Regions from separate parts of the Homo sapiens genome. Here regions 1, 2 and 4 are each linked to region 3. The links are contacts of gene promoters, found by promoter capture Hi-C in blood cells and fetal thymus (Javierre and others, 2016). All regions are on one chromosome and are shown on one strand. Each heading gives the region's core, a stretch centred on a gene start or on the middle of the fragment in contact. The rest is flanking DNA. Distances are from core to core; before and after follow the strand shown. Region 1 has its middle 21 kb from the start of MIR3150BHG. Region 2 has its middle 21 kb from the start of PLEKHF2. Region 3 holds the start of TP53INP1 (tumor protein p53 inducible nuclear protein 1). Region 4 overlaps LOC124901982 (a long non-coding RNA gene).

The links. The method cuts DNA at HindIII sites, captures the fragments that hold promoters and counts their contacts. A CHiCAGO score of 5 or more calls a contact.
Region 1: a contact is called between a fragment that was not itself captured here and the fragment with the promoter of TP53INP1 in region 3, in 1 of 17 cell types (neutrophils). The highest score is 8.3, in neutrophils.
Region 2: a contact is called between a fragment that was not itself captured here and the fragment with the promoter of TP53INP1 in region 3, in 4 of 17 cell types (neutrophils, monocytes, total B cells and 1 more). The highest score is 18.2, in neutrophils.
Region 4: a fragment that was not itself captured here is called in contact with the fragment with the promoter of TP53INP1 in region 3 in 3 of 17 cell types (naive B cells, total B cells and neutrophils); the score reaches 8.5 in naive B cells.

Annotation. Positions count from the first base shown.
Region 1 is chr8:95,093,012-95,095,711 of GRCh38, forward strand. It overlaps a transcript of NDUFAF6 not described here. Among named protein-coding and RNA genes, the nearest start is that of MIR3150BHG, 21 kb to the left of the region's middle. RefSeq lists an enhancer at 1-3. The HindIII fragment of the contact is 6,887 bases long and covers 1-2,700 here.
Region 2 is chr8:95,111,868-95,114,567 of GRCh38, forward strand. It overlaps a transcript of NDUFAF6 not described here. Among named protein-coding and RNA genes, the nearest start is that of PLEKHF2, 21 kb to the right of the region's middle. The HindIII fragment of the contact is 8,286 bases long and covers 1-2,700 here.
Region 3 is chr8:94,948,087-94,950,786 of GRCh38, forward strand. It overlaps TP53INP1 (tumor protein p53 inducible nuclear protein 1), which reads right to left and starts at 1,292. Exons shown (of 4, transcript NM_033285.4): 1 at 1,068-1,292. It also overlaps a transcript of NDUFAF6 not described here. RefSeq lists enhancers at 633-1,261, 1,262-1,891, 1,758-1,927, 2,098-2,147 and silencers at 708-847, 1,068-1,447, 1,528-1,637. The HindIII fragment of the contact is 4,012 bases long and covers 1-2,700 here.
Region 4 is chr8:95,169,419-95,172,118 of GRCh38, forward strand. The region is part of intron 1 of LOC124901982 (a long non-coding RNA gene); the gene reads left to right. Among named protein-coding and RNA genes, the nearest start is that of PLEKHF2, 37 kb to the left of the region's middle. The HindIII fragment of the contact is 5,000 bases long and covers 1-2,700 here.

The DNA of each region.
Region 1 (2,700 bases), core at 134-2,633, 150 kb after region 3:
ATTATAGAAAACATATGCCGAGTTCCCTGAGTCAGTTTGAGCTGAGTTCATAACCATAGTGCTCACCCTATGCTTCTCACTGGGTAGCTGTTCTAATCCCTTGGGAGTGTAAGGGGTGGGTGGGAGGGGTGGAGATGTAACTTGGGTTCTAGAGTCCGCCTTGGTGGATTTGCATTCTGACCCACCACTCATTTCAGGACCTTGAACAATCTACTTTATCTATGTCTTGGGTTCCTCATCAGCAAAATCAGAATGATAATATCTATCTTTGGGGTTGTGAGAAAGAAACTTCTTATCTGAGGAATGCAGGCCTCCTTTCATTATCAGGCCCAAAGCAGCACTGAAACATGACAATGTGTGACAGAAGTCATGTCTCATTGCCCCTTGAGCTAAATAATTACTTCTTGAAGCCACTTGCTTATGTGAGCTCTAGAGTATCTGATGCCAAGACTCCATAAAATTGCATACACTGGACACCATAACTCATACCCTATAGTTCAACAATGTATACCCAATCACTCGTTAATGTTACTTCTGTAAACTAATGAGGATTCCAAAAGATTTTTTTATCAGACCACTCCCTGTCCCCTTTTTGTCTTTAAAACCTGCTTGTAACAAAGTAACAAAGGCCAAAGGCAGCATTCCCCAAGGCAAATTGGAAGTGTCCTGGGCTACAGTCCTCAACCCTGGCCCAAATAAACTATATTAATTTTGCCTCAGTTTCTTTCCTTAGGTCAACAGTTGGGAGGCTTAGATGAGATAATATAGGCAATGTCCTTATAACAAATTCTTAACACATATTAAGTATTCAGTTAATGTTAGGTAGCTAGTGGTATGATTGCCACACATCTTCCCTGCAAAGGGCCCACAGTTGTTCTTCCCTCACTTAATTAGCTACCTTCTTTTCTTTTGTTTTCTCTCCTCAAGGCCTTCTTTAGACCTGAAATAAATACTTCCTTTTTTTGTTGTTTTTTTTTGAGACAGCGTCTCACTCTGTTGCCCAGGCTAGAGTGCAGTGGCGTGATCTCGGCTCACTGCAACCTCTGCTTCCTGGGTTCAAGCGATTCTCCTGCCTCAGCCTCCCTAGAAGCTGGGATTACAGGCATGCACCACCACGCTTGGCTAATTTTTTGTATTTTTAGTAGAGACAGGTTTTCGCCATGTTGGCCAGACTGGGCTTGAACTCCTGACCTCAGGTGATCCGCCCACCTTGGCCTTCCAAATTGCTGGGATTATAGGCGTGAGCCACCACACCCGACCAAGAAATACTTCCTTTTTCACCCCTTCCTCTTCCACTTCCTTTGGCCACTGTGCCCAACTATTCTATGTCTTTCCTTTTTCTTTCCTTCTTTCTTTTCTTTTCTTTCCTTCTTTCTTTTCTTTTCTTTCTTTTTTTTTTTTTTGGATTTTTTTTTTTTTGAGACAGAGTCTCACTCTGTTGCCCAGGCTGGAGTGCAGTGGCACGATCTTGGCTCACTGCAACCTCTGCCTCCAGGATTCAAGTAATTATCCTACCTTAGCCTCCCAAGTAGCTGAGATTACAGGCGCCTGCCACCATGCCTGGCTAATTTTTATATTTTTTTAGTAGATATGGGGTTTCACCATGTTGGGCAGGCTGGTCTTGAACTCCTGACCGCAGGTGATCTGCCCACCTCGGCCTCCCAGAGTGTTGAGATTACAGGCGTGGGCCTCTGCGTCTGGCCTCTTTCTTTCTTTTTTCTTTCCTTCTTCTTCTTCTTCTTTTTTTTTTTTTTTTTAAGAAATAGGGTCTTCGTCTGTTATCCAGGCTAGAGTGCAGTGTCATGATCACAGCTCATGGCAACTTTGAACTCCTTGGCCCAAGACACCCTCCTGCATCAGCTTCCTGAGTAGCTAAGACTACAGGTGCACACCACCACGCCCAGCTAATTTCTTAATTTTTTGCAGAGTTTGGGGGTGGCGGGGGGTGTCTCACTGTGTTGCCCAGGTTGGTCTTGAACTACTGGCCTCAAACTATCCTCCCACCTCAGCCTCCCAAAGTGAGGTGGCCACCATGCCTGGCCCACATTTTTCTATTGATCCTCACCTAAGTCTGTTGGCACTCAACAGATACTAACCATCACGCAGTCAGATAGGAGAAAGATTAAAAAAAGAAAAAGCCGTGGACTCCATAGATTTGGGTTTGACCCATGGTTGTAGAGGATTCTTTCCCTCTCACAGGCAGGCATCTATGATTAATTTGCACAGTGTGCCTCAGAGCGTGAATCAGGAGAAAATCTGGTGGTTTGACCAACCCAGAGATGGGGGTGAAGCTAGCTGAGAAGATAGTCACCTTAGTACTGCTGGAGAAGGAAGGATGTGAGGGTTTGGTGGACACAGTCATCCGAATGGGATCCAGGTCATTAATCCTTGGCCGCTCTCTGTGCCCAGTGGCCTCCTCTCAACCAAGGTGCAAACTAAAGGCAATTCACCCTGAACCCCAGGGTGGAGTGCAGGGGAATCCAGCACACGTGGGAAGGTCTGTCCCCCAAGACTTTCTTGTTCTGGCCTGAGGCTGTTAAATTCCCTGGGGCTGATTGCTCCTCAGTCTCTCCTAAATTTTGTGCATTCCATGCTCACTCCACCCCCATTAGCCAATACAAGAGTTTTCTTGTGTCTAAAAAAGATCATTTCGCTTTTTTTTTTTTTCTTTGAGACCAATTCTCACTCTGTCTCCCAGTC
Region 2 (2,700 bases), core at 192-2,691, 160 kb after region 3:
AATACTGTTTAGCGGGCTCCTATGTTCACTTTATATCCTCCAGCTATGGATAAGCCTTTTGTCCCTGCTTCCAGTATGGTTCTTCTGCTTTTGCATCCTGATTCTGCTGGTTTCACTCCTCTGCTTAAAACCTCCCATTGATTCCTACTGTTCTTAGAAAGAAACCCATGCTTCCAACTATGGCGGACAGAATAATGGCCCCTCAAAGATGTCCACCTCCTAATCCTTGGAACCTAATTATGCTATTTTACATGGCCAAAGGGGCTTTGCATATGTGCTTAAGTTAAAGACTAAGAGTGCAAAGGCCTCTGCTTTTGTATGTAATTGTAATGGGTTGAATAGTGGCCCTCAGAAAGATATGTTCAAATCTGAACCCCCAGAACCTGTGGATTTGACCTTATTTAAAAAACCGTTCTTTGCAGATACAATGACATGAAAGGTCTCAAGATGAGATCATCATGGGTTTAGGGTGGGCCCTAATCTAGTGACAGGTGTCCTTATAAGAGAAAGGCAGAGGAGATTTAAGATGCAGAGACACACGGGGGAGACTGGAGCTCCACTGACACAAGCCAGTGAACTCCTACAGTCACCAGAAGCTAGAAAGGCAAGGAAGGATTCTCTCCTGGAGACTTCAGAGAGAGCTTGAACGTTCTGGCCTCTAAAACTATGAGAGAGTGGATTTCTATTGTCTTTAGGCCATTCAGTTTGTGACAATCTGTTCTGGCAGCCACAGGAAACCAACACAACAATCTTCCCTACACTCCTCTGTTACACCATAAACCATTAAGATCCTGTTTGCCTACCACGTTGCAGACAAAAGACACCTTGCCATCCTGCTCCCTCCTGTCCCTCCATGCTCCTGCCGATTCCTCTCTCTCCTCCCCAGTGCTTTGATGACCCATTAGTATATATTTCTCTGTGTGACTTTGCTTTTAGCACACACAGTACAAACATTAAGATTAAAAACAAACAGCACTAAGATTAAAAATGTTTAGCAACCAGGATGCCCCATGGGCTGACAAATCTGAATGGACGCCAGTTGCCACGATGGAGCAAAGTCCAGATGGCCCACTGCCAGGCCAGGCATTGCCCCCTTAGGTGCTGGATCCTGGCCAGCAGATATTGGCAAGACTCCTGGTGTTAATTCTCACTGTATACCAGGGCCTGTGCTGAGTAGACGATCTCTTTGAGACCACCACAGTCCTACGGGTGAGGAAACTGAGACTGACTGAAGTTCAGTGATGTGCCGGAGGTCACACAGGTTGTAAGCAAGTGGCAGAGGAAGGGCTGGAAACCTGGTGGCCTGACTTTAGTCTGATTTTTTGTGGGGAGTGTGAGGAAAATCCTGGAGAGAATCATTTCTCTATGGAGTAGGGAATACTTAAAAAAGATGTGTCATCAGTCTAGGGGCCTTCGAAAATTAAATTATTTACTTCAGACAAATGGTGCCAGAGGGGATAGTAGCTGACTCATCATTCAGTCCCCACTGGAGCTGCAGGTATAAGCGCTGGGAGGGAGGTCTCATGGAGGAATGATCAACTCTGCGCCATCCCCATCCCAGGGAGAGGAGAGCTCAGAGCTTATGATACAGTGAGGTGCAGAGTACGCAGAGTCTGAGGGACCTTCCAGGGGTCAGGAATTGTATCCAGGTTCCGGGAGGTGAGAACTTGGCGGGATTTCTTAAGCCCTGAGGCTTTCCTGCATTGACTCTTCTTGCCTTCAAGCCCTGCTTGCCTTCCTGAGGTCATCTGCAGTGAAGGCTTAGCCAGGAAAGGAAATAAGTGCTTTTGTTAGGAAAGAGCAAAGACTGCATTGGACAAGCAATCTGCACCTCCATCCTTGGACTAGAGAAGAGAAGTCAGAGATAAAATGAGTGCCACTGGCAAGAATCACATGAACCCGGGAGGCAGAGAGGTTGCGGTGAGCTGAGGTGGCACGACTGCACTCCAGCCTAGGGGACAGAGAGAGACTCCGTCTCAAAATTTGTAGGGACATGGATGAAATTGGAAACCATCATTCTCAGTAAACTATCGCAAGAACAAAAAACCAAACACCGCATATTCTCACTCACAGGTGGGAATTGAACAATGAGATCACATGGACACAGGAAGGGGAACATCACACTCTGGGGACTGTTGTGGGATGGGGGGAGGGGGGAGGGATAGCATTGGGAGATATACCTAATGCTAGATGACGAGTTAGTGGGTGCAGCACACCAGCATGGCACATGTATACGTATGTAACTAACCTGCACAATATGCACATGTACCCTAAAACTTAAAGTATAATAATAATAAAACAAACAAACAAAAAATGAATGGTGTTGTCTTTAAAGGGAGAAGGGCCCTCAGTGGCCTGAGGCTTGCACAAGAGAAGAAAGGAGAAGGGTGGGGAGTGGGTGCCTCACCCTTAGCCAGAGGCATGGTCCCAGAAGTTTAACCACTGAACCCCAGTGGTTCCCTGACAGGCAGGTGGAGGTGAATGTGAGGGAGGCCCACAGGACCGCAAAAGCAGCTGGTGCTGTGAGTTCACCAGTAAGTGACTTTCCTGTGATTTCCCCGCTTATACCAAAAGCCATGTTTGCTGAAAGTCAATGGCATTTTCTGGAACTGCCTATGGAGGTGTACTTCACAGGAACTTTTAAATAACTTTAGTCCCAAGTGATTCATTATTCTATTCCATTAGTTAGTTGTTGGCAGA
Region 3 (2,700 bases), core at 42-2,541:
GCCCAAGTCCTTGGGAGTCACAGTTGTAAAGAGGCTCTTCCTTAATCCACTCTGTATTGGAATTAACCTACTGAGCAGATATAATCAGAAAATACAAGCAAAACAGACTCTCCAGGTAAAATTCAGCTGCCACTTTGAAATACAAACACCATTTCCTTTTATTAATTGGCTGTGTGGCCTTGAGCAACTTAATCTCTCTGTGCCTCGGGTTTCCTATGTGTAAGATAGCCGGGCCTATTTCATATAAGGTTATTATGAGAATCAACTGGGGCGATAAAGCAAAGCCCCCAGCATAGTATATGGCACATACTCAGCGCTCAGTAAGCGTGAGCGATCCAAAGGATCTAAATGTTAAGGGCCAAGGAGAGCGCTCTTTCCACAGGTGCAAAGTCAGGTAGCGAAGACTGAGTTCAAGCCAGGTCAAGCAAGGGACAGGCCGCGGACAGGCGGGGGCCGGTGGCCGGGTCACGGAGCAGGTTCCCCATAGCCGCAGGGCCTCCGGAACTCGGAGGGCAGGCGCAGGGGACGGGATCGCAGGGCGGGGACAGAGCGCCGGGCCACAAGCCCAAGCGCCGCTGTCTTCGGAGATGCGTCCCGGGGGTGGCCGCGGGAGCCCCGACGCCGAGTCCCGAAGGGGCGGCCCCATCCAACGGCCGAGAGCAGGCGGAGGAGGAGGAGTGGAGGGGAGTGAGGAGGGGTGAGAGGAGGAGGTCCCGCCGCGGCCAAGAAAACAAGCCACGCTCGGGGGAGGAGGCAGAGACCAAACTCCCAACCGCCGCCCAGCGCCGGGGCCAGGCCGGGCCCTTGTCCGCGCCGCCGCCGCCTCTGTCAGCCTCTGTCCGCGCCCTGGGCCCCGGGGGCCGCCGAGGACCGACCCACTGGGTGGGCGGCCGGGCCCGGCGGCGGCGAGGGGAGGCAGCGAGGGGGCTCGGTGAACGCGCAACCGGCGCCCCGAAGGCAGGGCGCGCGGCCGGCCCCGCCGGGCTCAGGAGCGGGCAGCGCTGCGGCCCCAACCGGCAGCGAGGCGGCCCTGGACGGACGCCCGCCCGCCCCCCCCCGGCACTTACGTGGGCCCGGGCCGTGCGGGGCTGCGCGGGGAAGGGAGCGGCCGCCGGCTCGGCGGGGAAGGACGCGGGCGGGGCGGGACTGCTGAGGTAGCTGCGGTGGGGCCGGGCTGCGCTGCACCTCGTTCAGGTACCCAGACGGCAGGCGCGGGGCCGGCTCCAGCCCTCGGGTCGCTGCGCCCAGGCCGGCCAGTCCAAGTCCTTTTGTTGTTGTGCAGCGCTCGCAACAGCTGATCGGCCGCTCCGCTCGCCGTCGGGCCCCGCTGCCCCGCCCCGGGCCGCGCCAGGCCGGGCCCCACCAATCGGCGGTGCGGGGGCCCCGGGGCCGCCCTGCGAGAGGTTGTCACCAACGCACGTGACCTGGCGCCCGGCCGGCGGCGCGCTCAGCTCCGAAACAAGCCCGGGCAACAAAAACCGGGAGCTGAGCGTGAAGGCCTGGGCGAGCGGAAGGGTGGGAGAGAGGGGCTAGGCCGGGGAGGGAAGCGCTGGGGCCGGGGCCGGCTTTCCAGGAGCCGGCGGGAGCGGGGTGCGTAAGAGGCGGGCGAGGAAGAACCGGCGGGCAACGGGAAGGGCAGAGGTGGATCTCTCCCTCAGCGACCCCTCTCGCCGAGTGAAGGGTCGAGGGTTTGGGGCACAAAGGGCGCAGAACGTTTTTTCCTGTGAGAGGAACATTAAGACTCCTGGGAGGGCTGGGGCTAACGCCTCCGAGAGCCCCACCTGGTCAGCCTAGGGTTAGACGTGTAGCCAGGGTGCTGGGAGGGGGCCGCTGCTGGGCCCCAGATAGAGGGGTAGAGGCCGCTCAATCACGGAGCCAGGCCCCACCTGCTGTAGAAACCGCCACCGAGAGCCGGCCGGGCTTGCTGCACGCTCTGGATTCCGCCTGCCTATAGGCGAGGCACAAGGGACTGCGAGACCAGGCCTGAAGGCAGAGAGGTCAGCAGGCTCGGGGGCCTCTGCTCCAGCGGACAACAAGCGCACCGGGCGGGAACGGCCGCCTCCCCAGGCGCTGCAGCCTAGCTCTCATGTGACCCACGGAACTTAGCCCCTCTGTTCTGTTTGCATACCTGCAAATTGTGGGCATTCACGCCGGGACTGCCAACTCACCAGGTTATTTATAGTGACAAGAGAGTGAGACAGTGGGCTTGAAAGTGTTTTCCAGACCAAGGCTCTGTCCCACATATAGGTGGATTAACTGTCTGGCAAAGGCAGGTGAGTAACGTTGATGCCTATCAGCTCTCATGTGGATACTGTTTGGACTGGGATGTAGTTCTTTGACCTGGGGTGAGCTGTATAGCAACCCTGGAGGGATGCCTATCACACATTACAGTATCTGAAAGACACTCACATTCTGACCCTCACAATGTAGTCAGTCCATTTCCAACAATGCTGGTTTTAAAGGATGTAAATTGCAGTGCAGGGAGTTGTCAGACACCAAGGAGTAATGATCAAAATATGATGGTCATTGGACCTTATCTTGGGAGAAAGAGCTAAAACTGTGTTCTAGATAGTCTCACAGACTTGAACATGCTTTGGATTTTAGGTTTTTGCAAATCAGGCTTGTTCTAATATTTTCTCCCACATGCTATGGTAGGAGCCCCATGATCTCTTGTTTCTCCCTAGGAATCCATTGAAGAGG
Region 4 (2,700 bases), core at 150-2,649, 220 kb after region 3:
GTGGACTGTAAAGGCTGGTTTGGCATCAGCCTGAATGAATAGAGGAAATGTCACCTGGAACTGACATTGTGGTTCTTCTCTCAACTCCTAGGTGCAGTCTGTGGGGTGAGGGAGAATAAGTGGCATCCCCTTGAGAGGAGAACAGGGGAGACGCAGTGTCCCTGCAAGGATGAGCAAGGTGGAGAGAAGGACCCATTGGTGATATGGCTTCAGATGAGAGATTTTTACCATGGAATGAAGTTCTAGAGGGCTCAGATAAAGGTTATGCAGAGAGGGAGCAATGAGAGGTTGGTGAATGGCGAGGAAGATCAGATCTCTTGTGGATGTTAGAGTGTAGCCAAAGAGATGACCTGAGAAGCCTGCATTTTGGCCCTTGACTAAAGAAAATGGGAATTTGGTGTTTGGAGACACTAGCTGGCTACAAGTTTTCTAAAAGAATGAGTTCCAGAAGTCGTCTAGTGCATGGGAGGAGGTAGAGTGGGACTCCAGGCCTTCTAGAAGGAGGTAGCCTTCCTTGGACTGAGGAGGAATGATTTTCCCACAGAACAAAGAGCATGATCAGAGGCACAGAGGGAGTTTCACGATACCAGGGTCCAGAAACTAAGTAGGTCAGTGCCGCTGGGATGCAGTGTTTGTGGAAGAGTGCCTGCCTGTCAGGTGGGGCCAGATTATGAGAAGCCTTGCAGCACTTACTCAGGACTTTAGACTTTATGCAGAGATGTGACGCAATGAGAGTTCCCTGATGCCAGCGAGAAGGGCGGACTGAGGGCAGACCAGGCAGGAGACCAGGAGCATGGACATTCCTGGCACGGAGAACATAAAGTGATGAGAGCTACAGAGGAGTCAGAAGTGATACCCAATGAGAGAGAAAGAGAGACAAAGTGGCAGGGGAAGAGAGGAGAGATAACTAGGAGAGAGGCCAGATGCGGAGGCTCATGCCTATAGTCCCAGCATTTTGGGAGGCCAAGGTGGGCGGATCACTTGAGGTCAGGAATTCGAGACCAGCCTGGCCAACATGGTGAAACCCCGTCTCTACTAAAAATACAAAAATTAGCCTGGTGTGGTGATGTGTGCCTGTAGTCCCAGCTACTCGGGAGGCTGAGGCAGAAAATTGCTTGAACCCAGGAGGTGGAGGCTGCAGTGAGCTGAGATCGCACCACAGCACTCCAGCCTGGGCGACAGAGTGAGACTCTGTCTCAAAAAAGAAAGAAAGAAAGAAAGAAAGATAGGAGAGAATGAGAGCTAGAGACAGAGAGAGAGAAATAAGGGGATGGGAGTAGAGAGATAGGTGAGAGAGAGGAGAGAGAGAGAAGAGAGACAGAGACATAAGAGAGAGAGAGACAGAGAGAGAAGGTGCTGAGAAGAGGGAGAAAACTTCAGAACACTAAGGTCTGCCCAGGCTTATACCACAGGAACATCTGAACAGTAACACAGGTACTAAGGAATGGATCTTTTTGTACATTTGGCTTTTTTGCATCTGATGTGAACAGATAAGTATAGTAGCTGTTTGTTATGCTTCCTTTTAATAAATGATGATTATCAACTGTCATAAACCTCCTGCAATTTAGATTCAGATCCTGCATCACTTAGAAACCAAATATATGTGCATCATTGATGCTGCAGTGACCACATCACCTGAAAATCCTTAAATGAGACATCATTATTCTTGATTTGTAAATTTATTCATGCTCTGTCTTCTTTAATTAAAGATTCCAGGGAAAAGTAATTCAGAAAGAGGAGGACAGACTAGAGAATTAAAAGGTAACTAAAATAAAGGTCTACGTAGGGACCTAAGGTAAAATTTAGTGCTCTGAAGAGCTACGGAGACTAATGAATTCACACGGTGAATATTAGATGTGAAATTCTCAGTTGTTGACCCTTGGGTTGTTTAAACATTCTGAATTTATCTGGATTTCTCCATGATGGAAGTTGACAAAACTATTTAATATTAACTCATCACTATTTTATTCCTTTTGTTCTCCTGTGATAATAACAGGAGTCTGGCCGGGCATGCTGGCTCATGCCTGTAATCCCAACACTTTGGGAGGCCGAGGCAGGTGGATCACCTGAGGTCGGGAGTTCGAGACCAGCCTGACCAACATAGAGAAACCCCGTCTCTACTAAAAATACAAAATTAGCCGGGCGTGGTGGCACATGCCTGTAATCCCAACTACTCAGGAGGCTGAGGCAGGAGAATCGCTTGCACCTGGGAGATGGAGGTTGCAGTGAGCTGAGATCATGCCATTGCATTCCAGCCTGGGCAACAAGAGCGAAACTCCATCTCAAAAAATGAACAAACAAACAAACAAAAAAAACAGGAGTCTATATAGACTGGGAAGTTCAGTCCCATGATAGGTAATAGGTAGATTATTTTTGCTGACCTCCTGATCGTTAGTTTGTCTTACAATGTTTTCATGACCATCGTCTCCAAGTTGGAGCCAAACGTCTTTATTTTACAAGATTTTTCACCAGTGGTCACTCTCCAGTTGAATGAACATTTGCTTGTTCATTCTTCTCATTTTAAAAGTCTTATTCCATCTTACTAGAAGCCACTTGTTTACATTCTGGAGCCCAATACAGTAATAGAGACTGTTTTTCTTATTGTATATCTCTGTGGTCTGAGTTCCTTAACCTGCATGATGACAAATGGAGTACAGGCCATCGATATATGTGTGTGTCTGTGTGCTTGCATGCAAGTGT